Regions from separate parts of the Homo sapiens genome. Here region 2 is linked to region 1. The links are contacts of gene promoters, found by promoter capture Hi-C in blood cells and fetal thymus (Javierre and others, 2016). All regions are on one chromosome and are shown on one strand. Each heading gives the region's core, a stretch centred on a gene start or on the middle of the fragment in contact. The rest is flanking DNA. Distances are from core to core; before and after follow the strand shown.

Evidence for each region. The method cuts DNA at HindIII sites, captures the fragments that hold promoters and counts their contacts. A CHiCAGO score of 5 or more calls a contact.
Region 2: a contact is called between a fragment that was not itself captured here and the fragment with the promoter of COL4A2-AS2 in region 1, in 1 of 17 cell types (M1 macrophages). The highest score is 5.2, in M1 macrophages.

Annotation. Positions count from the first base shown.
Region 1 is chr13:110,462,037-110,464,959 of GRCh38, forward strand. It overlaps COL4A2-AS2 (COL4A2 antisense RNA 2), which reads right to left and starts at 1,251. Exons shown (of 5, transcript NR_171022.1): 1 at 987-1,251. COL4A2 (collagen type IV alpha 2 chain) reads left to right here. Exons shown (of 48, transcript NM_001846.4): 23 at 78-150; 24 at 242-348. The HindIII fragment of the contact is 13,540 bases long and covers 5-2,923 here.
Region 2 is chr13:108,268,185-108,274,644 of GRCh38, forward strand. TNFSF13B (TNF superfamily member 13b) reads left to right here and starts at 1,534. Exons shown (of 6, transcript NM_006573.5): 1 at 1,534-2,050; 2 at 2,156-2,240. The coding sequence starts at 1,712. RefSeq lists enhancers at 1,570-1,999, 1,951-2,459 and a silencer at 2,360-2,439. The HindIII fragment of the contact is 1,636 bases long and covers 2,812-4,447 here.

The DNA of each region.
Region 1 (2,923 bases), core at 1-2,500:
AAAAAGCTTGCCAGCCATCTTCTCAGATGCCCTCACAGTACAAAGAAGGAAGATATTTTTTTGTCTGTTTTCCACAGGGAGTGCCTGGCAACATTGGTGCTCCCGGACCCAAAGGAGCAAAAGGAGATTCCAGAACAATCACAACCAAAGGTGAGTTCCTCTCTGGCCACGCGGCCCCTGGGGCACTGAGCCTTCCTGTGGGCACCTGCCTGGGCAGCTTCACATGCAAATCCCTTTCTAGGTGAGCGGGGACAGCCCGGCGTCCCAGGTGTGCCCGGGATGAAAGGTGACGATGGCAGCCCAGGCCGCGATGGGCTCGATGGATTCCCCGGCCTCCCAGGCCCTCCCGTGAGTAGCCACAAACTGCGGCAGCTCCGTCCTCTCTTCTTCATCCTTCAGGTTCTCCAAACACCCCAGAAGCAAACAGTATTGACATGAGCACTAAACCAACCTGTGCATAGGACAGGCTGCTCATTCTGCTCATTCTATTTCTAATGAGCAGAAATCAGACTTTTTAGGAAACGGTGAATTAAGTTAGAAGCCAAGCTCCAAATGAACATTTAAAAGTCAACAATCAAAGAAATATTCCTCCTGGTGTAACAGACTAAGAACCCTCCCCCGCCAAAAAAAGTAGACTATTCTAAAATGGGTGGTGGAACCCTATTTTTCCAAGGTAAATCATGAAATATACAATTTCATTTTTGCAACAAACACACACTGGTGTTGAAGGAGGGGCTACCTAGTAGCCTGCAGAGACCCCAGCATCATTTCCTCAGGGGAGGCTGGGGTCAGAGGCGCGGGAGGCAGCCATGGAGGGAGACAAGACCCCTTCCTGTGCACCCTCCAGCCTCTGAGCCTCTCCTGCCACCACGCCTTTCCCACTGCCAGCTCTGGAGCATTCTCTTCTCAGAAGGACCTTGCAACCTTATTTCTCACGTCTTTTTTTCTAGATTCCATTTTCCTCCCTCTAGTCACCAAGCCTGTACCTCCTTAAGCTCTTTGTACTGGTTTCCTGGGGCTGAGGTCACAAACTGCCACAGACTGGGCAGCTTAGACATCAGAAATGTATGGTCTCACAGCTCTGGAGGCTGAAAGCCGACATCAAGGTGTCTGCAGGGCTGGTTCCTTCTGAGACAGTGCGGGAGGATCTGTCCCTGCCTCTCTCCCAGGTTCCCGGAGCTCTGGCATTCCTTGGCTTATAGACGGCTGTCTTCTCTCTGTCTTCTCATCATCTGTCCTCTCTGTGTGTCTGTCTCTGGGCCCAAATTTCCCCTTTTTATAGGGAGAGCGGTCATATTGGAATGGGCCCATCCTAAAGACCTCATCTGACCTTGAGCACCCTCAAAGACCTTATTTCCAAATAAGGTCACATGTCTAGGTCCTGGGGGTTAAGACTTCAGCATCATTGGAGGACGATTGAAGTCATAATCCTCTTTCTCCTCCTCAGAGCCTCACGCCTGAATTCTATTCGCAGCTTATTTGCCTCATTCCATAACCCATGTCTTCTCTAGTTTTAACGTGGGTCATGTCTGTAATAACACTCTTGAGTGCAGTGGTACAATCAAAGCTCACTGCAGCCTCGAACTTCTGGACTCAAGCCATCCTCCTGCCTCAACCTCCCGAGTACCTGGGACCACAGGTGCACACCAGCACACCCACCTAATATTTTTAAAATTTTCTGTAGAGATGAGATCTCTCTATGTTGCCCATGCTGGTCTCAAACTCCTGGGCTCAAGTGATTCTCCTGCCTTGGCTTCCCAAAGCACTGGTTTTATAGACATCAGCCACCACACCCGGCCCACATTTTTACAATTTAAGTGCAGTTTTTTGGGGCCAGAGAACACAGATAATTCTATGATTGGGTATCTTAAAAATCTCATCTGGGAGGCAACAGGGTTAAATAAGAGGCAAAGTCATAATTGGTCACTTTAGCCAGAAGAGGAGGATGAGTGATGATTCCTGTGGTTGGAACAGTCTTTGGCCTGTTCAGTGTCATGTGGGGTGGGGGTGGTGAGTGTATGTGTGGTGTGTGGTGTGCTCATGTGTGTATGTGTGTGGTCCGTTTGAGTCTGGATTTGTTACGGTAGTGGTGGCCTTCCCTGGAGTTGGTGCCTTGTGAAGTTGGTGACCAGGAGGTGCACCTGTCCAGCCATGGGGTTCACCCACCCCTGCGGCTCCCAAGCCTGGCTGCCAGTCCCAGCCCAGCTGGGGGCAGGTGGTCGGAGCAGGGTTAGGGGTAGGGGTGAGGGTTAGGGTCAGGGAGAACCTTGCAGCCTCAGCTTCCCATTCTCGGGGTGTAGGGACTTTCCCAGTGCTTGTGTGCCTTCCTTGTTTGGTGGCATCTCTAAACCAAGAATGTCAACTTCTGCCTTTAGAAAACTCGTGATCCTGCCTGTGCCACCTTCCAGTGGCATCATCCCCACTGCTGTCCACTAAGTTTGGGGCATCTGCCCTGTGATCTCTGCAACAGCCTTGTGTCCCCCTCCCCTGTGAAAAAAAGCTAAAACACAGGGGTACACCACTTAATCAAGGTCTCATAAATAGAGCTGGACCGGTGTCCCTGCCCCGCTCCGTCATGCCTTTGACAAGGAAGGGGCTGTGGTGTCAGTGGAGAGCAGGGTTTGATTTCTTATAAGCAGCTGCCTCATTGTCATGAGAACACCCAGCCTCGTCCCGTGGCTCAGCAGATGAGCGGGAGCTTATGCGCATGGCTGTTCCACCAGCACGTGGGGACAGCACCGAGCCGTGCCGTGGTGTGTGCGCAGATCACACCAGCATCACTGCTGCCAGCCTCCCCACCCCATCCCTGCACCTCCCACCAGCTCCCCCCCGCACCCTGCAGCTGGTGCTTTCATCCACAGGGCAGCCCCTCTCCATTCCCAATCCTGTAATCTCTCCTGACTTCTGAGGCGCACACGGCTCT
Region 2 (6,460 bases), core at 2,380-4,879, 2.2 Mb before region 1:
ATCTAATGGACTTTAGGGACTCAGGGGAAAGGGTGGGAGGGGGGTGAGGAATAAAAGACTAAAAAATGGGTTCAATGTGTACACTGCTCGGGTGATGGGTGCACCAAAATCTCACAAATCACCACTAAATAACTTAACCATGTAATCAAATACCACCTATTCCCCAAAAACCTGTGGAAATAATTTTTTTTTAAATGGAAGCATCCAAAATGTAATTTGTTTCCACATTCTTGTAAGCCTCATTATGTATCCCAGGGACAGTTAATATCGTCATACGAATTCACAGGTGAGGAAATGGAATCACAGAGAGATTATGTACTTTGCATAAGGAGAGCGAGGGTGAGGCAGGATTTGCAGTCTAGAAGCCTGGGTCTGGAGTTCTCCACTTTGCACTATATCATTTCTGTAAACTTCTTACTTAAGACTGTGTGGAAATGTAGAGTGAGACAGAACTAAAGCTCACTATTCTTAGTCCACAGGGGAGTAGTGACTACCCAGGGCTTGGTAAGTGCTCAGTAACGTTTGTTGAAAGATGAATCAATATTTCAATGCTGGGGCAAAGCAGTGAAAAACTGGGGAATGTCCAGGAACCAGCCATCAGGATAAGGCAGGACTAGAATGAATGCAACAGTCCTCACAGGTCCACCAAGTCAACAACAGAAAAATCCAAAGCTAAGGTGGCTCTTGTGTGATCAAGGACCTCTTGTACACCGACCTGTTAGGCTGTGGCACAGTCAACATGGGAGTTGTAGACAAGCTACTTGAGAGTGGTTAATGGTAGCAGTCAGGCATTTGGAGCTGGAGGCAAGGCTGATTCTCCTCAACTAGTATCATATTGAGCGGGGACTTAAAGCCTCAGAAGTCTGAGCAGAAAAGCTGAGACCAGGCTCCTTGGGACAGGCTGTTCATATGCATGATTGAGTTTCAGTGATGAGTCCCAGAAGGAAAAAGTTTATGCATGTTTTCCTTAAAAATATATTCACTTATATTTAGAGAATCCTTCAGATATCTAACCTAAATACGTCTGTAACATTTACTCTCATTCTTTTTATGACATTATTAGTATAATAATATGAATAATTCCCAGTGGACTTACTTCCACACTTCCTTCAAGGATTCTCCATTTTATTTCATAATTGAAGACTGTTAATAAATCACTCTCTAGCTAAGAACAATTCAATGCTAAAACACTTAGCTTATCTGACCTTCACATTAATTATTTTTATGACAGCAGCAGGAACTTTCAGCTGCTTTTCCCCCTTCCTTATGAAGCCATGTGGTCCCAAGCAGACAGAGTTCCCTTGCTACACTTAAGGGTGGGCTTCTCAGACCTGAGCATATCTTAAAAGCTTTCCCTTGACTGTGCCAATCCAAACTCCAAGTTTCCTCAGCAGATTTAAGGGGTTTTAAATCTACTTGAGCATGAGTGTTATGAGAAGACTTTGAAATTCTTACAAAAACTGAAAGTGAAATGAGGAAGACAGATTGAGCAATCCAATCGGAGGGTAAATGCCAGCAAACCTACTGTACAGTAGGGGTAGAGATGCAGAAAGGCAGAAAGGAGAAAATTCAGGATAACTCTCCTGAGGGGTGAGCCAAGCCCTGCCATGTAGTGCACGCAGGACATCAACAAACACAGATAACAGGAAATGATCCATTCCCTGTGGTCACTTATTCTAAAGGCCCCAACCTTCAAAGTTCAAGTAGTGATATGGATGACTCCACAGAAAGGGAGCAGTCACGCCTTACTTCTTGCCTTAAGAAAAGAGAAGAAATGAAACTGAAGGAGTGTGTTTCCATCCTCCCACGGAAGGAAAGCCCCTCTGTCCGATCCTCCAAAGACGGAAAGCTGCTGGCTGCAACCTTGCTGCTGGCACTGCTGTCTTGCTGCCTCACGGTGGTGTCTTTCTACCAGGTGGCCGCCCTGCAAGGGGACCTGGCCAGCCTCCGGGCAGAGCTGCAGGGCCACCACGCGGAGAAGCTGCCAGCAGGAGCAGGAGCCCCCAAGGCCGGCCTGGAGGAAGCTCCAGCTGTCACCGCGGGACTGAAAGTGAGTTTGCAGCAGCTGCAAGACGCAGGCAAGATCCTGCCTACACTGCTGCCTCTCCCTCGCCTCAGCTGTCTTTCTAATAACTTGAAGTTTTTCTGTTCATAGATCTTTGAACCACCAGCTCCAGGAGAAGGCAACTCCAGTCAGAACAGCAGAAATAAGCGTGCCGTTCAGGGTCCAGAAGAAACAGGTATGTTTTGGGCACAGACACTTTTAGGAGTCAGGGATTAGAGAATAACATCCAGTCTGGGGGAGCTGGAGGTGAGTATCCCCTCTATGAACCTATTAAATAGAGACTATGAAATTTGCCATCCAAAGCAGACATTGCTTTAGAGCAAAGCCCCAGCGCTGGCAAATGTAACAGGCTGCATGGGTGTGCTTTTTCCTCCAATGAGCAGATCGTGTGACTGGAAGCATTTCTCTGTGCGTGTGTAAGTATTTATCTGTGCATTAAGCATAGAGGAGATAAAAGGGCCATATGTGTTTCCTCAGGTAGATAATGCCCTCCCATGTGAGAAGCATTATTCATCACTCCAGAAAAATAAAAAAAAGCATTACATGTTAGAATTAGACTTTGCTTACTACCTGGGTCATAGAAAGTTAAAGACATCTGTTTTCTGAATGTACATTACATGTTGTGAAACCAGGTGAAGGTTGTAATGAAAGGCCCTGTATGTTGTACTTTAATTTTGTTTATTTGTTAAAAAGGTTATTTTACACACACACACACACACACGCACAGACACACACACAGATTTTAAAGCTTCTCTTTAAGGTACGCTTTTCCAGGGGATCCATGCATTTATCGTCTTCTTATAATCGTCCTTTACTGATTTCTGACTTTCTTCATGTTCTGCTCATTCCACGGAACTTTACAGAGTTGGTGGGGCCTACCAAAATGATCGATTCTAGTTCTTTCATTTGAAGGTGAAAAAAAGAATCTTTGTATACATTTATTAAAGTTATAATATAACAAATTCTTAATATTATTGTCCTTTTATTAAATATATTGAAAGAATATTTTTTGAGCACCTGGAACGTATCGTACAGCTATAGACCAGAATAGGCATTTTCAAACATACTATTTCGTTTAACCTTCACAGTGACGCTATGAAGTCCACAGAATACATGCAATAATTTATGTATATTTTCACTTCTGAAGAGAATTGCATAAGAAATGTAGTGAGAGATAGACCAGGGACCCTTCTATCACACACACACACACACACACACACACACACACACACACACACACGCATGAGGTACCCTGACTATAAACTTATTTTTTGACTATATGCTTTATTCATAAAAAATTGTTTCTTATTTTATAAAACCATAATTTTTGGTATCTGGTTATTGTATCTTTATACTAGTTATCAGGAATAACTGGGCTTAAACATTTTTAAATTAGGAAACATGCACATTTTTATTATTTTAACACATCAATTATTTTTATCGTCTGCATTTTATAGTCTATATTTCCTACATAATTGAAAATAATACGGAATATATACTATAATATTTTTTGTTTTGACTTATACAATAAGGATTTTTCCTATTTCTAAGTATTTTTCATATATCTGTATTAATTTATCTAACAATTGTTTTAAATGGTTATTTCCATTCTCTTTGCTATAATACAACATGCAAAAGTTTTGCACAGAACTCTTTTATTTCTGTGAAATTATATATTCAATATAAAATTCATATAGTGGAATATCTGAGCTAGGGAGAAGAAACATCTTCATCACCCTTGCTTCCGACTGCCATATTGTTTTCAAAATGAGTTATACATGCAATCAAAAATGTGGTGTACCGGTTCTCCACATTCTTGCTTGCATGTTATTTTTAAAGTGTATTTTGACTAGTTTAGTAGTTGTAAAACAATATCTCACATTTATTTTGATGTGTTGCTTGTTTACTAATATGAATAAACTTTCTGCATATTTTGATTATTTATAATTTTATCTTTTGCTAATTTTTATTTATAACTGTCTCCACTTGTCTGTCCCATGTTTTTATAATTTTGGATAAGCTCTTCCTAATTAGACATATTGATAATTGATCAAAATTTTGATGTAAATATTTTAACAGTTTTGCTTCTTTTTTTACTTGAACATTTTGCATTTCTCTATAGTAAAGTGATAATCTTTAAAAAATTTTCCCTAATATTAAAGCTAAAAATACATTTGTTCATGTTTTCTTAAGTAGTTGACTCCCTGCCACTTTGACTTTTTCATAGTTGAGTGTTTTGTTTTAACTCATTAGTCCTTCTGTTGTTTATTTTGATGAATCATCTCACATTGGCTTTAACTTCCCCCTCTCTCTTTTTTCCTTTCTAACTGGTATCTCAACCAAATGTATTAAATAGTTCTTTTTAACTCCTTGGTGTTGAAAAGCTTACTGTGTTTTATTAAGTTCCTCATAAGAGTTGAATCTATTTGAGACTCTTTTTTTTAATTGATTATTCTATTTATATGCTTTAAAGAATATTTTTAAGGTAATTTGTATTATAAGAGGCTTCAATAACTAGTAGGGTCAGGATCCTTCAATCTCCTTAACCTTCACTGCTAATATCCCCGTTTCTAAATATTAGTTTTAAAAATAAACTTTAACTTTACAATTAAAAAAAAAGATGTAGACTCATTTCAGCAGATTTAAGAAGAAAAGAATAATAGAGTAGGAAAGAAATAACTTCTTGGGTCACATTTTCCCAAAATTCTCCTATTAATACTTTTATGTATTTGTGTTTTAATGGCATCCAGGAATAGTATACTGATGAGAATCTTTCACCAAATAATTTGCAATTTGTAGATTCTAACAAAGTGAAAAAAAATTTGCCCAGATTTCCACAGCCCAGAAGTAGCTACTATTATTATTTCATGGTTTGCCCTAGACTTTTTAATAAACCTTAATACAGTGTGCATATAGGTATATATTGCACACAGTTGAGCCTTGAACAACACAAGTTTTAACAGCATGGATACACTTACAGGTGGATTTTTTTTTTCAATAAACCTATTGGAAAATTATCTGTAGATTTGTGATAATTTGAAAAAACTCATGGAAGAACTGTGTATCTTTGAAATGTTGAAAATATTAAGATTAATTAGCCATGTCATGAATGTATAAAATATATGTAGATACTGGTCTATTTTCTTATTACTATCATAAAATATACACAAAAGTTAAAAATTCTCAAAACATATGCATACAAACAGACTGTACATAGCGCCCTTTGTAGTCTAGAGAAATGGAAACAAACATAAACATGCAGTATTAAGTCATCACTGCATAAAATTAACTGTGGTACATACTGTACTACTGTAATAATTTCATAGCCACCTCCTGTTGCTACTGCAGTGAGCTCAAGTGCTGTGAGTATCTGCTTAAAACACCATGTGATGCTAATCATCTCTGCATGAGCCAGTTGTATCTCCAATCAGTTGGATATTGCAGTAAAAATGATTTCTCATGATTTGTGTGTATTTTTCTTCTTGTGTAATGCAATATCATAAACCTTGAATAACACCATGAGACCTATAGAAAATGCGATAGTGATGCTGGAAATGCTCCCAGGAAGCAAAGAAGAGTCATGACATTATAGTTGACCCTTGAACAACACAGGTTTGAACCGCGAGGGTCCCCTTGTATGTGGATTTTCTTCCACTTTCCACCCTTGAGATAGCAAGACCAACGCCTCCTTTCCCTCCTCCCCCTTAGCTTACTCAATGTGAAGAATGAAGAACTCTATAATGATCCACTTCCACTTAATGAATAGTAAATGCATTTTCTCTTCCTTATGATTTTTTAAAATAACATTTTCTTTTCTCTAGCTTATTTTATTGTAAGAATACACTACATAATACATATAATTTATGAAATGCGTATTGATTGAGTTTTTGTTATCAGAAAGGCTTCTGGTCAACAGTGGGCTGTTAGTAATTAAGATTTGGGAGTCAAAAGTTAAGCACAAAGTTTTGACTGCATGGGGTCAGTGACCCTAATTCCTGTGTTGTTCAAGGATCAACTGTATTTGTTCATATACATATGAACAATACATATGAACAATACATATATGAACAAATACATATATTTATACAAATATATGTACAAATATATACACATACAAATATATATATATATACATATATATACATACATAGTGTGCATATGTGTTATGTGTATATATTCAAATAGGACATAGTATACACACTCATAACTTTCACAAATCCAAGGTGGAAGATTTGAAGATAAGAATCTTAATGACATCATGTCTACTATTCCTTGTTAATAAAATTAGGAAATTCATTTGAATGTTGTTCTAGATACTATTCTTTGGTGGAGGGAAAGTTTATTTTATTTAGCATACTCCAAAATTAATGTTTATATTCCCAAAAAAGTTGTCTG